Regions from separate parts of the Homo sapiens genome. Here region 1 is linked to region 2. Evidence: promoter capture Hi-C in 16 types of primary human blood cells and fetal thymus (Javierre and others, 2016). All regions are on one chromosome and are shown on one strand. The core of a region is centred on a gene start or on the middle of the fragment in contact, and the rest is flanking DNA. Distances in the headings are between cores, read along the strand shown. Region 1 has its middle 200 kb from the start of TPK1. Region 2 holds the start of CNTNAP2 (contactin associated protein 2).

Region 1 (6,911 bases), core at 2,739-5,238, 1.1 Mb before region 2:
CAGCAGTTCTATTAAGTGCACACAGGCATATACGATGCTGATGCTCTCTTTTCCTCGTCTCTTGCTAGGCTCCTAGAATCAAATAACCAGTCTGCTATTGTTAGAACAGGAGAATGGAAGAACTTTCTCTGGAAAGTCTGATCAGTGGAAGAGCAAAGCTCTAAAAATATTAACATCACTGCTTTTCCAATGAAATAGCACAGTTAGCTCACCTTATGATAAAATGAATCCTTGAGAGGCTTAACTCATATACTCAATGAATCAACTCATTAGTTTCCCACTTACAAATAAGAACAGAAAACTGAGAGTTGCCAGATATCTGAGGAAAGCCTCTTACATAAAAAATCAGAGACTAAGCAAATGAAGAGGGGAAAAAAAGAAGTTCGGAGGAAACAGACTGTAAGGAGGAAAAGATTTTTAAAATACCACAAATATGCTCAGCTACAAGGAGATATTGTAATCATGAAACAAGAACAGGTGCAGTTAAACATGGACATGCAGGACACAAATACCTTTTTGAAGTTAAAAATATAACTAAAATTCTACTGGAAGTATTAGAAAATAAAAAATTTGGAAAGCAGAACTAAGAAAAATAAATCGAAAAATGGGAGAAATAAATTAGAGGATCAGCAAGCACAGTTGGTGTCTTATCTGTTGAATAGCAAGTTTCAGAAACAGAGTAAATAGAAATGGAGAAAGATGAGAGTTATCAAGGCAATAATTTAAAGAATTTTCCTAGAACTGATACAAATGAGTTGTCAGGCAGATGGTCTCACTGAATGCCTAGAAAAATAAGCAAAATTCAGCCCTCATCAAGGCAAATTATTAGAAGACTAGCAGCAAAGAAAATACCTATATCTTTCCTGAGTATCACTGTCCAATAAAGTTGCCGCAAACCACATGTGACGATGGAGCTTTTGATATGCAGCTAGTCCAAACAAACATGCTATAAGTGTGAAATACACATTATATACACATTAAATACACATTATATTTTGAACACCTAGATTTTAAAAGTTTGTAAAATACTTTCTTACAATGATTTATATTGATCACTTCTTAATGATAACATCCGGATATATTTAGTTAAATAAAATACTAAAATTAATTTCACCTGTTTCTTTTTAATATTTTAAAACGTGCTATTAAAATTTTAAAATTGCGTATGTGGCTAACATTTGTAGATTATCTTATATTTCAATTGAACAGTGCTATTCTAGAGGAAATAAAAACCACAGAGAAAGAATCATGAATCATGTGGGTTCTCTATGATTCTAGAAGCTAGAACACAAAATTCTGAAGGAAAAATCATTTTCCATCTATAGTTCTATGATCAGGACAATTATCAACCAAGTATGCAAAAAATATAAAGATATTCTTAGGTATGTAGGTTCTCAAAAAATTTATCCTGAATACATCCAATCTTAGGGAAATACTGGCTAATATTCTCTATTAAAATAAGTAACCTAAGAATGAGAAAGGTATGGGATTAAAAAGAATAGCAAAATCAATACTTTCCTATTTTATTTCTGATAGAGGAGAGAAAAAAGGAATGTCCAGGAGGGATAAAGGCATAGCAAGCAACAGGTTCATGTGAGCACTCTTCATAGGGCTCCAGGAGATATTTCTTCAAGAAGATGAAATTGAGATATTGCTTTATGTGTCTCTATTTCCTGAGGGAAGATACAGGATTGGGAGAAAGTTTGGGGTTAAATTGATGCTAATTTAATAGAAATTAAACAATTATACAATGATTAACTGCAAGACAGAGAGTTGTACGGTAAATGAAAGCAATCGGTTTACTGCATATCTCCTTTGAGAATAGTGTTACTGTAGTCTTGTAAATATTGAATATCAATCAATTGAAATTATGGTATAACTCTACGGGAGGATAGGGAGAGGAGAAAGAGGAAATGTAGAGGGGTAAGGGAAGAAATGAAGCTTCATCTTCATCTGCCATAATGGGTATTCTTTTCACAAAACTAAAACTGACAAATCAAGAATTAGCAAACATGTTACTTAATAATATCAAAGAAATTTCTTAAAATATCAGCTTTAATAGAATTGAATGTGGCTGCTTGTAGAGAGGAGAAAATTGGACAAGAAGAAGTGGTCAGGAAAATTGCTATTTTATTTAACAACATTAATGGAATATTTAACCTTAAACTATAGTCATATGTAACTTAGACTTTTACAAAAACTGATACATAAAAAATGAGTACAACTTTGGTAATCTGAGGATTCATCATGTCCAAAGTCTGCAAGTCAATCTAATGACCCATAGGCCTAAGAAGGCCCAGTGTGCCAGAAAGATATCAGGCAGAAACGTAGCTTACATTTTGGATTGTGTAATAAATTAATGAGTCTGCTAATCTGGGGTAAAGTAAGTAAGGAGTTGCCCTTTTAAGAACTGGAATAGACTATCCTCTGTATCTAGGTAGCTGGGACCATGCTTATAGCATCGATAAAAGGACATGACTAGCCAAGAATCCAAGCCCACAATTCAGAGAAATCCTTGGTTCATTCTTGGGTTAGGGAACCTTCTCCAGGTGTATTTATTTTCAGGTTTTTTTTGTTGTCGTTGTTCAGTTTGAAAGCAGGTACAACCAGCTTAGAAAAATAATCATGGTAGACACCTTAGTTCATTCTTCTAATAAGCCTGTTGATCTGGTCCTCCCTCTTGTCAGCATCTCCTCCTTCTGCAAAATGGATGGCTGTTTTCTTTATTCTGCCTCATAGAGAAGATAATTTGAAGGGCCACAGGAAGTTATTTGCTTCTTTGAAGCATTTTCCGACAGTATAGATCTCATGAATCAGATCCTCCATGCAGATGATGCCATAGTTACCAAGAGATCGAGCAATCAAAGCATGATCTGTCGAAGCAATTTTCTTCTTATCTATTTTGCCATAACCAACCTTGTAGGTTAGTTCATTTACTGCCTTTAGATTTGGGTTCCCCCATGCAATCTATGGCTCTACAATCCTCAGCATGTAAACAGTATAGATCTCATGAATCAGATCCTCCATGCAGATGATGCCATAGTTACCAAGAGATCGAGCAATCAAAGCATGATCTGTCGAAGCAATTTTCTTCTTATCTATTTTGCCATAACCACCCTTGCAGGTTAGTTCATTTACTGACTTTAGATTTGGGTTCCCCCATGCAATCTATGGCTCTACAATCCTCAGCATGTAAATTGAAGCCTTGTTGATCTTCACACAGGTTCCATTGAAGACTTGACGAAGGCGAAGAATCTGCAACACCTTTTGGACCTTTGGGCTCACACCATTGATACCTCTGATCTTGATGACAAAGGCCAATTTGGCTTCTGCAGGTACATAGAAATTGCCAGCTTTTCTTGCCATCCTCGCCATTCGAATTTCAGTTCTGTAAATCTGCCTATATTCCTTGTAATAGTGCTTCTCTTTTTCATAGATAAGCTTCCTCCTTGCCTTTCAAAGCATCTTTTGGGCAAACTTCTTTCTCAGGCGCTTGATCTTCAGCTCTGTGAAATTCCTTTGCTTTTTCTTAAGGGTTTCTGTCACAGCAGAAACCTCCTTCTTCTTCTCTTCTACACCCTCCATGGTTCCAGTTGGAAAAAGAGGAAGTTCTATTTTCCAGTTTTTAAAGAAATTTTCACATTAGGGAGCATTACAGGAACTGAGAAAGAAGCTTGCATCTACAAAATAGAAAGAATACACAGTTGTCTCAGTTGAGGAGAGAATTGTGCGTGTGTTCTAAAATCTTTTCTCTTTGCAGTATAACAATCTGTTGGTAAATAATAAATTGCCATTTTCTTTAAAGTGAATTATTTAGGAAATATGGTTCCTCTCAATGTTTTTGAAACTATCTTAAAATAAATTAGTTGCTATGTGTATAAACAACAGTTCTTTCAGATCATTAGGAAACATTTTAACCAGTTTCATTGTTAGGGAGAACAATTACATAAGTTGGTCAGATGCGTTAGACAAAAGGTTTTGGTTAAATCCAAGTCTGGGTCACTTCGCATCTCCTTCTAATTTAAATTAGATTTAAATTTCCAAAACACCCAATAGTTACTTGAGGAGATTAGGTGGAAGAACATGAATGAATTGGCACAAATATATCAATATTCTTCACAAATTAGGGATGCTCTGGTAGAATGTGTGTTTCTATGGAGATGAGAATAACTCTGAGGCCATTGTCATGGTCTTGAATGACTGGGGTTCTAATAATTCAGCAACATTCTGTGCTTATGTATAAACTACTATTCATAGCAACTGGCCCATTGACATTTTTGCAAAGCCACTTTTGACACTCTATTAAAGCTTACATTTGTTTATGTATAGAGTGAATATTTTAGGAAATTGAGGCCTGTGTTTTTTTTTAAAAAAAAGAGAAAGTAAGATTTATTTATTCTACGATCAGCTATTTTAAAAACAAAGGGATTACAATTAACACTTGAGCCTGGAAGTCTCCTCACATAGCAAATTGCCAAAGAATTCCTTCTTAAGAAGCAACAGAGTTATTACAGATTCCTGTCTGCAGTCTGCTCCCTATCCATAAGCTCCTGATCTATGGTATATTTGCTGAATTGTCAGTGAAGTTTCTGCAGAGAAAACTGCCCTCAGTGCTGCATAGAGGAAATAATGCTAGAAGTAGAATCAAGCTGGCTTGCTGCATAATCTCAGCAAAAACACATAGATAGCCTCTCTGGGTTTTTAAGAAAATAAAAAGAAAGGCCAAAGATTAGAAAATATATTTTCAAAATATGTATTTAATAAATCACTTGTATTAAGAATATATTAACTCTTATAGCTCAATAATAAGAGAAAAAAATCTCAATTAAAAATGGGCAGAAGATTTGAACACACTTCATCAAAGAACATACACAAATGGCCAACAAACACATAAAGAGATGTTCAATGCTATTGCTAATTACCCAAATTCAAATTAACCTCATAATAAGATATTACCACATACTAGAGTTTAACAGGAGTGATAGATAGTACAGAAAATCAGGAGCAATTTGATTCTTGTCTATACCCTGATGGGCTGTTTAAATTGTCTTTTAGAAATTCTACTTTTTGCCAGAAGAATATCTAGTTTTCCTTTAGGAAGAGCATCTCCATCTAGTTGTCATCTCAGATTTTCTTAGAACCAAAAAGCATTGCCTAGAGTAAAATGTTTCTACCCTCTCTTTAGGTTCTGATATATTTTTGTAGCCTGAAATCCTTCAGTATAATTTCTGACCAAAATAGGGCATCCCACCCCTAGAAGAATTTGGATAAAATTCTCATTGCAAGCTTTGTCTTAACTCTTTCAATGAGAGAAAGAAGTCAATGGATTATAACACTGAGGAGATTCTTGGATGATTCCTCTGAGAGGGGAATAACACAACCCAGAAAATGTGTTGAGCATTCAGGTGTAAGTAGAAGATGTCTGTGGTTCCTCTACCACATTGTGAATCGTAAGTAACCATCAGAAGGCCCATCGCCACCTGCTTGCTTAGGATTTCTGACCCAGGACAGTGAATGGAGAGCCTTGCCTTAGCTTTGAATTTCCAAAACACCCAGGCTCATGGTACAGTATAGTATATGGGGACAGAGATGGTAAGTGTCAAAATTTGTATCTTTCCACATAAGGCTTGGATGGTAGGAGGTTTTTAAGAAGAAAAGCATACCTGGAAAAATTTTATATTCTAAGGGTTAACCTATAGATTAAGTATCTTAAGTTTGTTTTTTCATATCCATCATTATGAAGTACTTAGGTCCAGGAGATCTGTTTGGAAAAACCAGTGAAGTAATCATAAGGACAATTCTAGGAACAAAATATTTATGCACCCCTATTTTTTGATGACTTAGACTCATTAAGGAATTTCAGCACAAATGCACAATTTTCTCAACAAATATTATAAAAAAGATACTGAAAAGGATGGGAGAAGAGAAACAATTGGGGAAATAAGCATTTGTAAGAACATAAAATGTTAAGAAAAGCTAAACACATGAGAGTATTTTATTAACGCTTTCGTTCCCATAAAGTAGGAGTTGAGGTCTAACAAGAATGTTAAACATTAAAGCTAAAATTTAAAATTTGAGATAAGAGAAATCAAATTGAAAATAAAGGCTAAAACCAAATTCTAAAACGTCTGTAAAGAAGCAGTAAAAGTTTCAGGCAAAATGACAAAACCCAATGGGATGAGAGCCTGAAGCTGTTATTCTAGATGAGATTAAGGATAAGGAAGAATTAAGAGCTAAAAATATGGAAGTAAGAAAAAGCTTAAAGGGGAAAATTGTGAGAAAATTTGAAATATCATAGAAGATAAGTCATTCTGACATATTACCAGAATTATTCTTCAAAATGGAATAATCCTATGATGATTTGTAAAATGGCCATTCTTTAAAAAATTTTACATTGCAGTTACAGAAGGATGATTCGCTTGTAGTGGGGTGGGCCATTGGATAGTGAAAGGCAGGTCAGGGGTGTCAAGGTGCCCCAACCCAGTATGTGCAGATGGGATGGTGGGATCTAGGTAGACCCATGATGAGAACAGAGGGGACAACATGGAGTCTTGTTGGAAAGGCAGACTTTGTGATAGCTCTTGCTTGATTTTATATCTTGGTGGACCATCAGATTCTGATTTTAATGCAAATACATTCCATTCCTTTAAATATATACACTCTCTTCCATATGTATTATAAATAAAAAAGAACTTATTTAGAATAGCTCTGGGCTCACTCATGTTTTTGTATATTACTGTATCCTTTTGGAGCTGTTCTCCAAACTCTAGAGGCACCATTCAGACAGAAGAAATCAATTTCAGACACGATGGGATAACAGTTTTCAACTCACTGGGCTGCAAGTTTGCAGGTGAGTCACATAGCCTAAAAGAGACACAGACAAACAGACAGAGACACAGGCGGGCTTACTG
Region 2 (7,028 bases), core at 1,726-4,225:
ATAGAAATCAATAATGAATTCACTCTCAGAAACAAGAAATTTCATGCTTATCATATCTACTAGACATCTGGTTGGACTGTTGTAAGTCCATTGACTGGATTACCAGTTTTGCTGGACCGTGTAGTTTGACCAGAACAAACAGACTTACTAATTCCTACCTTCTCACTAAAAGTCATAGTGATAACTGAAGGAAGAAGAAGCTTAATTCTAAATTCTAATTGTAATAATGATGAAAATATAAACTCTAATGGAGTTGGATAGGAAGAACATAGCATTATACTCTAGGGAGTCTCTGATCTGGCAACAATTAAAGTCTTAAGACTTTAAGTATTTTGAGTTCCAGATGTCCATATCTAATTAACACAAATTGAAGGCAGAGGTAGTTGTGTTACAAATGATGTGACATAACTTTCAAACCTGACAAAGTGCATTGAAAACAGATTAAAGCAGGCTCTTAGCTCATACTGGCATGAAATAAGACCATCCTATATGGCACAGAGGTGGTGCAGGTATTTACATGTGTTATTAAATTGAGTTTTGTTGTTTCTCATTAGGAGAAATTACTACAAACTGATCAGAATGCTCTTTGGAGAAGAATACACCCTCAGGTATATCATTTTCTGTTACAAAATAATTAAATAGATGTCTATTGCATGTCTTTTAGTTTGGTAATCTGGGAAATGGAATTGTTTCAGTTCTGCTTGAGATACCCATGGAATAGCATTCATTGAGTTACTGAAATGGTAATACTTTCAATCGCTGCCTTTTTTCTTCTATTGAAAATACTTTAATGCTATGTTATTGGAGTTCAGTATGATAGTTAAAATGGAGAGGCATAGTTAAATAATAGATTGTTCTGAAAAGTTACGCTTTCTGACAGTTTTTTTTTTTCCTATGACTTGTTTCTTTGAGCTCTTAGAAATGGCTGATGGCAGTTCTTTACTGGAGTGTTTTGGCAAGTGGTCATTGACTTTTGACAGTCTGTGATAATTCAAACAGCAAAGGGACATTTTATAATCCATAAGAATGCATTTGCTGTATTATTTTACAGGAGGAGTATTTTATAGAATGAGGAGGCAGTTCACCTCCCATTAGTCATCTGTGTGTTTCTTCATTTTCCATATTGTACCCAATCTGCAGTTCTTACTAGGACAAAGCATCCTTTTAAATTAACAAGAAACAAAGATCAAATAAAAAGCGCTGAATCAGACCCATTAACACCATATTAATTATGCAGTGAATACACAGTACTATTTACAGTGGACCTTTCTAAGACCAAACAATGATGTTAAAAACTCAGTTTATTCCAGGATTAGGCAAGCCTCCATAAATTTTCTATTTATCTTTAAATGCAAATGCTTATTCATTGCATAACATCGAAAGACATGGTTACTCCTACTTAGTCCTCCACAAACATCATTAGATATTTAGATGACCAATAATTTTTAATTGTGTCAATAAAGTCAGTGGAATGCTTGGCTCTGCAGAGACATAAGAATTCAAATACTTTAAGTAGACTAGATGGAAGAAAAACATATGGAGGGTAGAGTGTGAAGAGCTGTGAGCTGGGGAGAAGAGCTTGATAATTATTATTAAAATTATCTAAATGTGAAAAAATCTAGGTCTCTCTAAACATTCTTAATTCTTAGTGCTTGCAATGCCTCAGGTACCTTGAAATAGTTACCCATATGCCTGCTTATGTATTTCCGTTTTGTGTTTGTGTTTGTATGCGTGTTTGCCTAAGTGTAGTTTCTCCTGGCAGCAGCGTGTGTTTGGTGTACGTGTGCATATGTATGAGTACGAATTAATTACATATCGAAAACATGTGCATTAACGGCATCTGCAGTCCTCCCTCCCTGCTCCAGTCAGTCGGGATGTTTAGCACCGTCACTTGGTGTTAGGACCACTCGGAAGACCTGCCTGTCGGACGCCTGACTGTGGTTCCCGGGGGGCCGGAGCTCCAGGAGCCTGTACCATCTTTATCTGAAGGGGAGGAGAGAAGGAAAGGAGAAGGCATCCGAGCGAGGGTGTTCTCCTTCCTGCAGCCGGGTAGGGGGCAGCCAGGTTTGGAGCAGGGTTCTAGGATTACACGGCAAATCCCCAACTTCAGCACCGCGGACAGCATCACCTCCCGCCCAGGGAGAGGCGCGCGCCTCCTTGCTCCGCCCCCGCCCCAGCTGATGGACCCCGGCCGGTCGGCTCAGTCTCCCTTTTGCTTTCAAACGAGGCCAGGGCAGGGCAGAAGGGTTTTGACAGCCAGAGGGGTACGGTAAGGAGGAGGAAGAGGAGGAGGAGGCGGAGGAGGAGGAGGAGCCGAGGAGGGAACCGAGAAGGGAAGAGAAGGGAGGGCTTCCCTCCGCCTCGCTCGCCGCCCGGGCTCACAGGAGCTGGCGGCGGCGGCGGCGGCGGCGGCGTCTCCTGCTCTCCGCGGCTGTTGCTGCTGCTCGCGCTCCGCCGCCCGGGAGATGCTTCCTCGCGCGGCGCAGCGCTGAGGCCGTGCGTGCGCCCCGGCTGCGCTGCGCGCTCCCCACATACACAAGCTCTCCATGTGAGCTGACAGGCGAGTGGAAACCCCTCGAGTCACGCTGCCCGGCGGCGGAGGGAGCGCTCGCCCGCAGTGGCAACAGCTGCACCACCGTCCCCGTCGCTCTGCCTTCCTCTTCTGCAGCCTCTGCTCTTCTGATTACCTCCCTCCCCCGTCCTTTGGTGATTTTTTTTTTTCAAGAAGGAGAGGGCGGGGTAGGTGTCCGTTCCCTCCCCTCTTCCCCCTCCTTTGCCTTCTTGGTTTGAATTTCCTCCCCCGGCGTTGCACTGGCACACAGTGCAAGAGGCAATACCCGCACGGAGGGAGAACGAAGGCTGAGACTCCCCTGCCGCTCCAAGCCCGGAAGAACTGGAGCCTGGAGGGGGGTGAGGGGAGAAGAGGAAGCGGGAGGGGCTTGGCTTCCTCGCGTATTTGAGGACAGCCCATCTCCCTTCAAGAACCCTACGGAGAGTCGGACTGCATCTCCGCAGCGAGCTCTTGGAGCGCCGCCGGCCGGGAGGCGAAGGATGCAGGCGGCTCCGCGCGCCGGCTGCGGGGCAGCGCTCCTGCTGTGGATTGTCAGCAGCTGCCTCTGCAGAGCCTGGACGGCTCCCTCCACGTCCCGTAAGTAGCCGTCTCCTCGCTCTGCTCTGGAGCAGTTTCAGTGCGGCATTGATGTTTGGCACCAGGGTATCAACTCCGAAGTGCATCGCAGTGCTGGCACCCTGATGTGTTTGTGTCTCCGCTGTCACACACTTGCAGCCACTGCAGTAGACAAACTCGAAACCCAGCGTTTCTGTTTTGGAAGAGACAGGGTTGTGACGCTGGTGATGTTTCTGGAAAGTTGTTCCTGGTCTTGGTGATCGGTTGGCAAGAGCTTGGCTAGAGAGACTGATGTAGATGGCAGCTTCTTAGGAGTTGTTTGTGCAGGGAGAGTTAACTGCATTTGGCTTAGGTAGGTCAGTGAATGAAAAGTGAAGACCATGGCAAAACCAAGTTTCTTATTTTTATTTATGGTTATAACTTAATGAGCACGGGGTTGAGGTTAACAAGAGGAGCATGTTTTAAACAGTTTGGGCACCTATAGGGTCTCTTTAACCTCTCCCGTTCCCTTAAAAAGTTAATGCCCATTTAGTACTTGCTTATTAAAATGGAAGGCAGCGAAATTGTAACTGAAATTGCTTTAATTCTTTGATACTTTGATATCATGGATATGACTGATGCAGTACGGTACTTGGGACACTCAGTGCAAAGCGTCGTTAATGTAGTAATAAACAGATTCTTAATAGGGTTTTCAGGAAAATAATTATATTCAATATGTATATCTCTGCATTTTAATCAACTGTGTGTGTGTGTTTGTGTGTGTGTGTGTTTAAGACTGCCCCTGTTTTCATGAGGTTTAGAAAGAAATGGAAGATTCTGGCCCATTTTCTGCATTCCTTTAGAAGTGCATACTGTGCATGTAGAGAGGAAATGCATGATTGTTCCTTTGGTTCAGAAAGAGTTAAACACTAGAAAGACTGCCTATAGGAATCTTAGGATAATATTCATAAGCGCATACTAGTTTCTGAGAATGAGTAAGTTGATAAAGAATTATCGTGGAGATTTCAGAGTTTAAAAGGAAGATTTTTTTGTCCATTTAGGAAAAGAAAAGTTTAATATTTTCCAGAATTCGTCATATGCGAAGTAGTCTTTGTTTCTAAGATTTTGGGATGTATTAATGCATCTTTGTTAATAATGATCTTATTGTAGTGGTAAATATCAACAGGAATAGCATTGAAAAAGGACATTATAAGTTGTAATAAGGAATCTACTATATAATATCCGGTTATGAGCCAGTATTACTGTTTTGACATATCTTCCTAAGTACAGTATTAGCTTTTCTTTTCCCACAATGTGTAAAGATAAGGAGATAAACTAACTGGCAATCTAAGTTTGTAATGAACTTGAAAACATTGTATAGCATTTTTTATAACACAAGTTAAATCACAAAGAGTTAAATATTGTTAATATTTATGTCAATTTTATAAATTTAAACAAATTTTGGGGATATAATGCTTGCTGTTGATATTTACACAAATATGTAACTCTATCACTGGGAAACTAGTTTGATGAAATTTCTGTTTCCATTTCAAGGTCTGGTTGTATAGAATTTCCTGCCACTTTTCCTGGAAAATAAACTCCTCATATATTAAATTTATTATATTCACTGATTGAAGGTCCTCATATCCAGGGTTTTTCCTGGGTTCTGTGTTCCATCATTCTGTATACTTTAATTTTGATGGGTCCATCTGAAACATCTGCCATGAGTAGCAAATGGAACACTGGCAGCCCTTGGGTTAATGCATTTTAAGATAAAAAAGTTGTTATTTCATAAATATTTTCTGAGTTTTCAACTTTATAGTTAGAATTTGAAGACAGAGAACATAGAAACAATTACTTTTAAGATGGTTAATAGTTATGGCCATTAAGATTTTTTATTAACTTGGCTTTCATTCTCTATTGTTTAAAAATGTGTAATGGCTTAATTAAGGTGGCTTTTTATTTCGTTTGAATTTAAACTGTGTGACCAAAATGCAAAGTTGCCCTATATCCTGGAAATGAATTAAATAATAAGGATGCTACAGAACTTTATTGATTAGAATGAGTTTCATGGATTCAGTACTTTAAATATCAACTGTACTTTACATTAATGAACATTTTTATTTACATTATATATAGCTCTGAAGAAAAGTATGATAGTTATATTCTTAATATAAAACATTCAAAGGAGAAAAAGATGGAAACTACATGAATCTAAGATAATGAGCAACTCAACCAGGAGAGGTCATCACAAGACAAAAAGTAGCATGAAAATCTAAAACTATCATTTTTCTTTGGTACACATTTTTAAAATGTGATGAGTATGCTAAAACTTTCTGTTCCTAAATACCTTTTTAATATGAGGGACAGAAGATGTTTATTTCACAACAACTGCATTTCAAATATGTATTTGCTTATGACTTATTTCTTTTTCTCTGTCGACAGACATATAAAAACTGTTAATACTATGTGTTGTACAAGCAGACTAGAATAAACTTGAAAACAAAGCTCATCACTATGGTTATGTAAAAATATAATCTAATTTCTTTGCAGATAGCGAAAATGAACTGCTGCTGAGCTGATGTAACAAATCGTGTATCTTCCCTTCCTGTAAATGTAGATACACGGGACACACGTGGGAAGTTTAAAGAAAATATTTCACTCTTAGGGAGTTGCATTTATTTGAACATATTATAAAGACCTTGATGGTGCAGTTCTAAATGATGAGGAGATTAAGCTAGCGCTTAATAAATTCACTTTTTAGAGTTAACTGAATTTTCACTTAAATAAATGATCTCTCATAAAGGCCAATTTACATCATTTAGTAGAACTATTAACCTATAATTTCATTGACCAACACATTTGGGAAATGTGTTTTGAATTAATTCACATATTCTCTAACAAATACGATTTTATACGTGTATATATACACACACATGAATATATATGTGTATAAATATATATGTATTTGTTCATATGTTTTATAAAAACATTTGAATACATGTTATAAAGTACATAGATACATATTTAATATAGCACATATATTAAGTATTATATGTAAAAATGTGTATATTTATATATTTTCTAAAACACCATTCAAGGAATTTAAGTTGTTTACAAGTTTATAGAAAGGTCTTTTTCCAGTGCAATTATTTTAAGTAACTAACGCAACAATATTAAGCAATAGTATATTAGTCTATTTTCTCTTCCTCAATTCATATACTTCTCCCAAAATGGTGTATTTTAAATGTAAAATATGTAAATGCATATAAAAGCAAATACTGCTGGTTTATAGAGACCTTGAACATAATAATGAACTTGTCTTAATGAAAACAATTTAAACTTAAAAGGAGCTTTAGGCAAGCAAAATTCATTGGTTGATAAAGCATAGCACATTATTTGCTTAATGCAACTAATAATTATTAACTAATTGGAGAGAAATGTATAATCTCGATTTTATTATAGGCACGGATATTCAGGAAGTAAGAATCATTGTTCAAATTTTACTCTTTACCATCAATATATGGCAAAATTGGGCAAAAAAATTAATCCACAAATTTAATTTAGGTCTTATTAACCTTTATGCAGTTATAAACCTACAACGTATCATTTTAGATGATATCAAAGTTGTTTGGTGCATATCATATTTTAAATCTTACAGTTATGTGCCCCATAATGACATTTCAGTTCAATGATGGACCACGTGTATGTTGGTGGTTCCATAAAATTATAATGGAGCTGTCATATATAGGTGTGCCATTTTTCATCTTGTATATTATATTTTTACTGTATCTTTTCCATGTTTAAGTATGATGAGATACACAAAGAGGCATTGTGTTATAATTGCCTATAGTATTCAGTGTAATAACATGCAGTACAGGTTTGTAGCCCAGAAGCAACAACCCATACCAAATAGTCTATG

The links. Contacts are between HindIII fragments. The CHiCAGO score rates a contact against its expected background, and 5 or more counts as called.
Region 1: a fragment that was not itself captured here is called in contact with the fragment with the promoter of CNTNAP2 in region 2 in 1 of 17 cell types (total B cells); the score reaches 5.1 in total B cells.

What each region holds. Positions count from the first base shown.
Region 1 is chr7:145,037,357-145,044,267 of GRCh38, forward strand. It overlaps the pseudogene RPL7P59. Among named protein-coding and RNA genes, the nearest start is that of TPK1, 200 kb to the left of the region's middle. The HindIII fragment of the contact is 635 bases long and covers 3,672-4,306 here.
Region 2 is chr7:146,113,826-146,120,853 of GRCh38, forward strand. It overlaps CNTNAP2 (contactin associated protein 2), which reads left to right and starts at 2,976. Exons shown (of 24, transcript NM_014141.6): 1 at 2,976-3,148. The coding sequence starts at 3,052. The HindIII fragment of the contact is 7,089 bases long and covers 199-7,028 here.